2 separate regions of the Homo sapiens genome follow, and region 1 is linked to region 2. The links are contacts of gene promoters, found by promoter capture Hi-C in blood cells and fetal thymus (Javierre and others, 2016). All regions are on one chromosome and are shown on one strand. The core of a region is centred on a gene start or on the middle of the fragment in contact, and the rest is flanking DNA. Distances in the headings are between cores, read along the strand shown.

Region 1 (5,019 bases), core at 1,875-4,374, 47 kb after region 2:
CTGGCTGCATACTGTTCCTTTGGGTGACTATCTCATCATTAAATAAATTTTAACCCACAGACATTAGATTGTTTCCAGCCTTTTGCAATTACACACGCTACAGCAATAAGCACTATTGTACATGTATCATTTTCACATGTGTGAATACAATACATGTGGAAGTCAGCTTCCTAAAAACAGAATTACTAGGTTAAAGGGTACGATCATTCCAGTGTTTTTCAGTATCAGCGAGTTGCCCTTCACAGAGGTTGTACCAATTCATACTCCCACCAGCAAGGTGAAAGAGTGGCCACTTCCCATAGCCTCACCAACACAGTGAGGTATCAAACTTCTTAATCTTCACTAATATGATCGATAAAAAATGGTTTGCATTGCAGTTCAATTCTTTTTAGAAGGTTAAGGATATGTTCACATATTTAGGAACAATTTGTATTTCCTTTTTTAGAAACTGCCTGGATCCTTTGCCCACTATTTTTTTTCCGGTTGTTGGCCTAGTTCTTATTGATTTGCAGGTGTTTTTTAGATGTTAAGGAAATTCTTCTTTTGCCTGTAAAGTAAGTCGCAATAATCCCTGGATTTGCTTATGGGATTTTTCACCTTTTTTTTTTTTTCTCCTTTTTTGAAACAGAGTCTTGCTCTGTCGCCAGGCTGGAGTGCAGTGACACAATCTCGGCTCACTACAACCTCCGCCTCCCAGGTTCAAGCGATTCTCCTGCCTCAGCCTCCCAAGTAGCTGGGACTACAGGCACGCGCCACCAGGCCCGGCTAATTTTTGTATTTTTAGTAAAGATGGGGTTTCACCATGTTAGCCAGGCTGGTCTCAAACTCCTGATCTCAGGTGATCCACCTGCCTCGGCCTCCCAAAGTGCTGGGATTACAGGCGCGAGCCACCACACCCGGCCTTTTCACCATTTTTAAAGGGAACTTGAATGTGTTGATAATTTAATTTATAATATCTGTTAAAGTGTCTGGTTATGAAAACTCCTCCATGGTTTTTGCTAGCACTTTCATGCTGCTGCTTTTACATCAGTCCCTCTTCTGAGTCACTTGTGTGCCCCAGCTTGCACCACGTTTTGGGCCCTGACATGCTGTGTCCTCATCCTGTTTGTGTTAGTCTGCAGCGGAGGTTCAAGCAGGCAGAGGTGAGCCTGGGCACAGAAGTGAGCATCCATAGTGTTTGTCCACCGAGTGGCACAGGCCACTGTCCGGGGTTGCTGGAAGGGAAGGGCTGTGTTGTGCTGGGACGAGCACCAAGCCGGAAGTCAGCTGTTTTACTTGCTTCGTATACAGACTTACTCTCTGTGCCTCAGTTTACTCCTTTGTAAAATAAGAGAGCCTTCCGTCATGAACTTCAAAATGAGAAGTATGTACTAGCTGCACACTGAAGCCCCTTCCTACTCCTCCCTGTCTCTCCCACTTTGGAGCTATTTATTCTTTGGGAGTTCAGCCTGGGCTTTGGCAAACAGGGAAGGCTTCCAGGAGGAGGCGGGCCCTGATATGCTGAGACCTGAGTTTCTGATCCAGTCTGGGAGCCAAAGCTGTGAGGAGGAATGTGTGTTGAGCAGCAGCTCTGGACCTCACTCTCTTACCTTACCTGGTTCAATCCTCACAACAACACAACCCAGTGATCCAGCATGGCCAGATGACCTTCCGTTTTAGAGATGAGAAAACCAAGGCTCTGAGACGTTGAGCCATTTGCCCAAGATCCTAGAGCCCAGATCCTAAGTGGCAAACTGGAACTCAAATGCTGGCCTGGGATGAGCAGAAGCAGGTTCTCAGCTTCTTCAAGGGTTGGAGGGGGCTGGGGAGGTTGTGTCAGGGTGTGGGCAGCAGTTGGTGGTCAGTGACTTTCCCTTGTGGCAGGAAGGAGAGGTAGGGGAAGCAGCTGGAGTTGGGAGATAGGAGGCTGAGGCAGCAGGACCCACAGATAAGGCAGGAGGTGAGCAGGGGCGGGTGTGCACATCCCGGCAGCTGGAGTGTAGATGAAATCTCAGAGAGCCCGGCAGAAGGGCTGGACCAGGGACCACGTCACTCCCAGGCCTGACCACTCCCTGCTTCTCCAGGCCACGTCTCACCCCTGAGCCTCGCAGCAGCCGTCACGGTACTTTCCTGGGCCTGGAAACGGCAGCCCCAGCCAGGCCTCCCTCTTCTCCAGGGTCAGATACAGGGGGCAGTGTGACATGATGCGAGAGCCGGGGCTCTGTCCTTCTGCTCTGCCTCAGGCCTGCTACACCTGAAAGCAGTCAGCCAGGCCTGCAGACACTCGGGGCTTCCCAGGACCAACACGGTCCCACCATCTTGTTGTTTCACTTCGAATGTCTTCATGACAGGCACACACTTTCCAGCTCTCCACCGTCCCCGCCTCTCCCTATTGTCCCACAACTTGTCACACCCCACATTTACCTTCTCTACCTGGCCCCTAAAGAATTTCGATTTTGAGGACCTGAATTAGTTGAGCGGATGCACTGAAGGTCAAAGTTTGTAATTTTCAGGGAGAAGGAACCTTTGAGATATAAGGGCCCAGAATGAAGCAGTAACATCCCCAGAGTCCCACTGCAGAGCGAGACAGAAATGGGACTAGAACTCCTGACTCTCAGTCCAGTGCTTGCTGACCTGACTTCTGCTGCTTCCCAGAAGCCTCAGGGAGGAAAACAGAAACAACTGAAGGAAAAGAATGGAGAATTCACAGTTTGGGAGGCTGAGGCGAGAGGATCACTTGAGACCAGGAGTTCAAAACCAGCCTGGGCAACATAGCAACACCCCATCTCTACAAAAAAAAAAAAAAAATTTAAGTTAGCCAGTATGGAAGTATGCACCTGTAGACCCATCTACTCCGGAGGCTGAGGCAGGAGGATCCCTTGAGCCCAGGAGATCAAGCTTTCAGTGAGCTATACTTGCGCCACTGCACTCCAGCCTGGACGACAGAGCAAGGCCATCTCCAGAAAAAAAAAAAAAAAAAAGAATGTAGACTACAAAAGAGTGTTGTTCTGAGCACTGTGACCCAAGGCAAGTCCCTGCCCTGCCACCTCTGGGCCTCAGTTTCCCCATCCACACAGAAGGAGGCTGGCCCAACAATGGTAAGTGCTGCTGTGAGCGCCTGAGTCCACCTCTCCCTCCCAGAGGCCGAGTGGGACAAACCACACGTTCCTCAGGCCTGTTTCGCACGAGCTAATATTGACCCAACGCTGTTTCCCTTGGCCCTGCACAGGGGCTATGTTTGCTCTGGCAAGACCCCAGCCTCGCCTGCGCCCCTCTGGGCTTCAGATGTGCTGGCCCAGGCGGGAGAGGCCAGGTCAGGGGCGTGTGCCTCATAGGCTAAGGGGCAAGGCAGAAACCACAAGAGGCCCAGGACACCATCCCGGGCCCCCCTTAAAGCTTCTAGTGTATTTATATATATTTAAAAAAAAGAACTGCCCAACCTCAGTTTTAAAATCTCTGATCTTTTTTAATGTTATATTTCATAAATACACTTTTTTAACACACATCTAACATGCATGCATACACACACACACACACACACACACGATATGATAACTAAATGTTCAGCCTCATCTGCGAGTCTGGTAGAAAACTTAAAATTAGCCCCTACATTGGAGAAATGGCTGATTCCAGGGTCAGGCCAGAGAAAGAATAAGATGAGCCTAAAACATCTTTTGTGCCAGAAAATAAGGAAGAACTCAAGGAATGACAGGGACATCACTGGGGACATGAAGAAGGTCCCTCCGGTTTCTTCTGAGCATCAAAATAAATACCCACAGTAACACAGCATCACCCACTGAAAAAAATAGGGAACCGTGAGTTCTGGCTGATGTGAATTAATTAATGCATAACAGAAGTTTGGTGTGGAGTAGGCTACTCATGGTGTCTCAGAGTGCCGACCGAACAAAATCCTTTTCCATGATGAAGGGAAAAGAGTCACTCTGCAGTGGAGAAGCCAACCAAGGGAGCCAAGTGGATTTCATCAGTACCAGGGCAAATGAGAACCGTGAGCCACCTGCAGGGATGCAGGAAGAGAAGCAGCATCTCTCTGTGATCAGCCCCCTGAAGATGCTCAGCCTGATATAACCAAGAGGAGACAAACCCAACATAAGGAACGTTCTCCAAAACCGGCCTGGAATATCCAACAACGTCAAGGGCACAAAACCAAGACTCAATGAGGAGTTATTCCAGGCTAAAGAGACAGGATGACTCAATGGCTAGGACATTCCTGGAACAACAGGGGGACCTAGGATACAGTGTGAGGTTTGCTTTGGGATTTTCATATGGCATTGTGTTTGTGTAAGAGAATGTCCTTGTTAGTAGGAAATAGACACAAGTATTCAGCAGGGATAGAGCATGATGACAGCAACTTAGTCTCAGATGGCCAGGGAGAAAAATAGCTTTCCCTACTGTACTTGCGATGTCCTTATATGTTTGAGATTGTTAAAAAATCAGAAAGGAGATGGGGACTTCAGAAATGTCAGGTCAGAGCCAAGATGGTCAGGCAGGAGGCAGGAAGAAGGAGCCTGCCTTGAAACATATCCCTCACTTTTTTTTTTCCTTTGGAGACAAGGTCTCGCTCTGTCACCCAGGCTGGAGTGCAGTGGTGCAATCACAGCTAACTGCAACCTTTTCCCTCACTTTTTTTTTTCCCCTTTGGAGACAGGGTCTCACTCTGTCACCCAGACTGGAGTGCAGTGGTGCGATCACAGCTCACTGCAACCTTGGCTTCTTGGGCTCAAGCAGTCCTCCTGCCTCAGCCTCCTGAGTAGCTGGAACTACAGGCATGAACCACCATGCCCAGTTAATTATTTTATTTTTTGTAGAGATGGGGGTCTCACTATGTTGCCCAGGCTGGTCTCAAACTCCTGGGCTCAAATGATCCTCCCACTTCGGCCTCCCAAAGTGCTGGGATTACAGGTGTGAGCCAGTGTGCCTGGCTAATTATTTTATTTTTTGTAGAGATGGAGTCTCACTATGTTGCCCAGGCTGGTCTCAAACTCCTGGCCTCCAGTGATCCTCCTGCCTCAGCCTCCCAAA
Region 2 (4,817 bases), core at 560-3,059:
GGCAGAGAGCAGAGACACAGGTCAGGGACTGGGCCTGAACACACAGAGTGCGGCTTCTTAGATCCAGGTGCGAGGCCTCGGGCCCAGTAGGCTGCAAACTTCAGCTGGGCAGCTGAGCCCTTTTATCAACATGCAGACACCAGCAAGCAACTTGCCAAAGGCCCCCTGCTCAGCCCATGGGGAACACAGAGGGCCAAGCCTGGCCTTGGGCCATTTGCTTCACTTCTCTGAGCCTCAGTTTCCTCATCTGAGCAGTGAGCTAGCAATCCCTCCTTACAGGATGTTTTGAGGAGCCAGCAGGGGGCCAGGCAAGCAATGAGTATTCCAGGGGTGGCAAAGGACCCTGCGGCCTTGAAAACACATTTAGGTTTCAGCCCAGACTTGCTGCCAGAAACAAGGGCAGCTATTTCTTCTAGCTGGGCAGGAGGGCACCAAGGATGGGCCCTCCAGGCATGGGCACAGGCTTGAGAGCCAAAGCAGTGCCCGTCAACATGGCCTCTTTCATCTGAGCATCAAAGCAAATCACCAAAGTGGAACCAGTTTCCCTCAGCCTGGCAGCGCCTGCTGGCGGGTTGCCAAAGACAGGGAAAAGGAGCAGGAATTCCTGGTGGCCACCTCGGCAGCCTGATCAGGTGCACACCAAGACACACCCCCGAGGAGCAATGTCCTCCAGAGACCCAAGAAGGCAGCACCCTGTGCTGGGAAGTATGCAGGGTCAGAGTGAGTTCAGGCCTGGGTTCAAATCCTGGCTCAGCCACTCTGTGGGGCCCTGGGCAGATCATTGCACCTTTCTGAGCCTCCGTGATCTCACATGTCCAGTGGAGAGAATAAGGCTACTGTCACTGGCCTGGGCCTGCAGTCAGGAAGGTCTCACTACAAAGGCCCTTCCCTCCCCATCCCATGCGGAGTCTGAACTGAGCAGAGCCAATCCCAAAGAGGAAAGGGGAAACGTGCAGGGCCGTCCCAACCCCCAAGTCACAGTAACTCACAGTGCCCTAGACTGGGGCTCTGGACATCAGAGTTCCTCAGGAGACCTTAGAAATCACCATGCAGCAGGCTCCCTGCTGTCTACTCGCTAAGGCTACAAATGGGTAAACTGAGACCCAAAGAGGGAAAGGGAATTGGCCACACCGTACAGCAGTAGATCAATAACCTAGAGGCTCTGGCGCTATCTCACTGTGTGGTCTTAGGCCCTCACTGACCTCAGTTTCCCCATCTGTACAGGAAGAATGGGCATTCCAGGACTCAGTGCCCAAACCTGAAACTCTGGGGGGTGTTATTGCCCCCAGGGAGCCCAAGGCTGGAAGGACCTGCAAAGGGGGCATGAGCTCTTGGCATCCCAGGTCTGCTGTCATCAAAGAGCCATGGGCTCAGCCCTGGGCTTGGTGCAGCTCCAGACGTCAGCCAGCTCTCTGAGTAGCTTCTGCTCCCCAGAGACCTGGAAGACCAAGGTCCCTGCCTCATGCATGGTCCCTGAGGGCTGAGGAGCACCCCTGCCCTGACCCTTATAAGCACCATGGTCCCTGTCTGCTCCTGCACCAGCCCACTGCCCACCACTGCCGCCCTGCTCCCTTCCCCATCCTGGATCCCGTGTGCTCCCTGCCATATCGGTACCCAGCCCCCAGTGCTGAGGGTCAGGGCCCACTAGCTCAGTAGCCCCCATCTCACGCAAGCCCCCTCACCTCTGGACTGGGGGGCGAGGCCAGGGCTGCACAGGGCCTGGAGCAGCAGCAGCAGGCTGCAGAGCATGAGGCTAGTGCCAGAGAGGACCCTCATAGTTCTGGCAGCACGGGCAGCAGCCGGCACGGTTGTGGGACCAGTGGGGTCCAGGTCTTATCAACCCCACTGCCCGCCCAGCCTTTGGGTCAGGTGGCCCCCAACTGACGACTGACGTGGGGGCAGCCCGCCCTGGCCCCCAGCCCCCCCAAAGGGCGGGGCTTGGGCTGAATGGAGGTGTGTGTGCCCTGAGAGGGCGGGAGAGCCTGGCCCAGGCTTCAGAGGCCCCTCTGACCACAAGGGCTCCTTTGCTTGCAGAAGCAACTAGAGCGGCAGCTGGAATTTGGGAAATCTCAGGTGGGTGGGGGGTGGCTCTTCCAGGGGCTGGAGCCCGCGCTGCCTTGAAGCTCCACCCCAAGCCTAGGCATACCTGAGTCCAATGGCCCGGCCCAGCCCTGTCCTGCACCTTCATCCCACACCCAAATCCTTCCCCCACTCACAACCCCAAGTTTCTCATTAAATTCACTTCCCCTTCCCCAGCCTCACTGTGCCCTGCTCTCCGCACACGCCCTGCTCTCCAGCTACCCCTGGATTCTCCTCGAAGGCCTCCAGGCCATCACACATGCAGGGCCATCTGCCCAGAATCCTTTCCTCTCACTAACTCTCTGCCTTGTAGAATCTTTCAAGGTCATAATTAGGGCTAACATGTACCTTCACTGTTAGTATGGGCAGGGCAGTGGAGACCATGGTTAAGAGCACAGACTTGGGAGCCAGGTTACCTGGGTTTGCTATACCAGCAAACCACCTGTGTGACCATGGGCAAGTGACTTCACCTCTCATGTCTCAGATTGCTCATCTGGAAACTAGGGATGGTAATAGCGCCTCCTAGGGTTGATTCAAGGAGCAAAGGAGTTAGATGAGGTTTCTCAGTTAATCCTCTTGACAACTTTTTAAAGCAGCTACTGTTAAAGAACAGAGAGGTAAAATAACTTGTCTGAAGTTACACAGCTAAGAAGTGTTATTGCCAGGATAGAGCCCCAGGCCCGGCTCTCAGCCATGCTGCTGTCTCAGTGTAGCTTGATGTAGGTGGCTTCTCCCTGCCCATCTCTTCCCCCTGTGGGTCCCTGCTTGGCCCACCTCACCTGTCAGCCAGTGGATTCAACTCTGCATCAGGCCCAGCACAGAGAAGGCAAAGATAAAGCCTTCTAAACAAAGTAACATCAGCAGGAACGATCCCCTTCTTTGCATTTGGGTCAAGTAGTTCATGAGATAGAGCAGAAAGAGCATGGGCTTGGCTACCTGAGAGATCCAGGTTCAAAGCCACTTCTGCTCCTAACTGGCTGTGTGACCTGGAGCTGGTGACTTAACCTCTCTGAGCCTCAGCTTGCCATGGTGCAGTGGGAATGGTCGTTCTTGATCTGCCTGCCCCATGTGAGGGGCAAGAGGGGGACAGAAGTGGAAATGGAGTTAAAGGATTGTCATTGCTCCAGGAGGCAGAATCCTAAGACTTGGGACCTATGCACTTCACTCTGTGTAAATTATACCTCAATAAAAGGAAATGTACAGACAAAAAGCGACTGCTGGGTGCAGCAGACCCAACTCACCGCTACCACACTCTTTAGCAATAATTATAACAATCCCTTCCACCCTTGACATGGCAGTTACTCATTCTATCACTCTATCTCATTTGCTCACCCAACAAACCTGTGAAGTCAGCAGATTTGAGTCTCTTGGCCCATTTGTCAGATGGAGAAACTGAGGCCCAGAGAGGTTCACTGACTTACCCGAAGCCACCAGCCAGTTTAGGGGCAGAGCCAAGCCTAAAGCTCAGGCCTCACTCCCCTTTGCACCAGTGTTAGAGAAGGAGGAGGTTAAGAGCATTGCCTTCTGACTTTTTCCCCTTATATTTCATGTGTGCCTAATTCACTGCCCTCCCCAATTCCAAAAACCACTTGAAGCTGCTGATTCCTTTTTCTGCTACAACTTTGAAGTCGAATTCTTCTCCAGAGATGCTGCAAGGTGTGATGATGGTGGTGCCTCTCCCTTCCCAAAATGGTGTAATTAAGGTGTTACCTGTCTCCCCAAGGACGTGAGCTCCCTCCGAGCAGGGGGCTTGCCCGTCTCAGTCACCACTGAATCCCTGGGACCCAGCATGGTGCCTGGCACAGGATCTCTGGTAAGCAAATGAAGGAATGAATGAAAACTAACTACGAACCTGTTCCATTTCCCTATAAACCACCCAGGGTCACACAAGGGCCATCCACGGTGACCAGCGGTGAGAAACGCAATGCTGTCCTCGTGCCATGCTGGAGGTGAACGAGGAGAACGTGAGCTGGGGTCTCCTCACCAACTGCTCCCCCCACCCCAACCCCCCTGACGGCCAGGGCTGTGTCCAGGGCTCAGGGCACAAGGCTCCGTTAGCTGGGCAGCAGCTGGCCCATGAAACAGCCCTTTCAGCTCCACCTCTGAATGGCAGTTCTATGGGCTCCTCGGAAGAACACAGGCGCCTTCTCTGTGTCACTTCTCCGCTCATTAGCAGAGCTGCAGAAATACACTACAGGTAACTTTTCAGGAACAGAGATGGGTCCCCCCCCGAACACCACCAGAAAAAAAAAAAAGGCAGCTTTGGCATTCTATAACAGGGGCAAGGCCTGGGGGCGGTGGTGGAGAGGAGATCTAAAAGTTCAGCATATACATTAAGGAAAGAAAATCAATATTTGTGTTTTTTAAATGTGAAACATTTTTCCCCAGGACTCAAAATTGAGAACAGTGTGTCCGGTATGAGCCAGAAGGAAAAAAAAATGCACGAAGGGGCCTTCTGCAAGGTTGCTCACAAGTCAAACAGGCAGCTGTGAAGGGCTCTGCTGTTCCCTCCTCCTGTTTTCACATCCCTCGGGCTTCCAGAAACTTAAAGCCGTTAGTGTTTCATGCAAGAGAGAGCATCTGTGATCCACGGAGAGGCCCCTGGGCAGTGTGGTTCAGTGGGAAGCACACAGGACTCCCTCCCCAGTGCTCCCAGGATCAGCTCTTTCCCTAAAGAGCAAACCTGGTTATCTCGCAATGACCTAGCTAACACAAATGCAACATCAGCCGGGGCAGCC

Evidence for each region. Contacts are between HindIII fragments. The CHiCAGO score rates a contact against its expected background, and 5 or more counts as called.
Region 1: a contact is called between a fragment that was not itself captured here and the fragment with the promoter of MATN1 in region 2, in 5 of 17 cell types (total CD8 T cells, naive CD8 T cells, naive CD4 T cells and 2 more). The highest score is 7.5, in total CD8 T cells.

The regions. Positions count from the first base shown.
Region 1 is chr1:30,767,204-30,772,222 of GRCh38, forward strand. No RefSeq gene overlaps it. Among named protein-coding and RNA genes, the nearest start is that of LAPTM5, 12 kb to the left of the region's middle. The HindIII fragment of the contact is 498 bases long and covers 2,876-3,373 here.
Region 2 is chr1:30,721,776-30,726,592 of GRCh38, forward strand. MATN1 (matrilin 1) reads right to left here and starts at 1,810. Exons shown (of 8, transcript NM_002379.3): 1 at 1,683-1,810. The coding sequence starts at 1,776. It overlaps MATN1-AS1 (MATN1 antisense RNA 1), which reads left to right. Exons shown (of 4, transcript NR_034182.1): 3 at 3,960-4,276; 4 at 4,468-4,817. The HindIII fragment of the contact is 11,974 bases long and covers 1-4,817 here.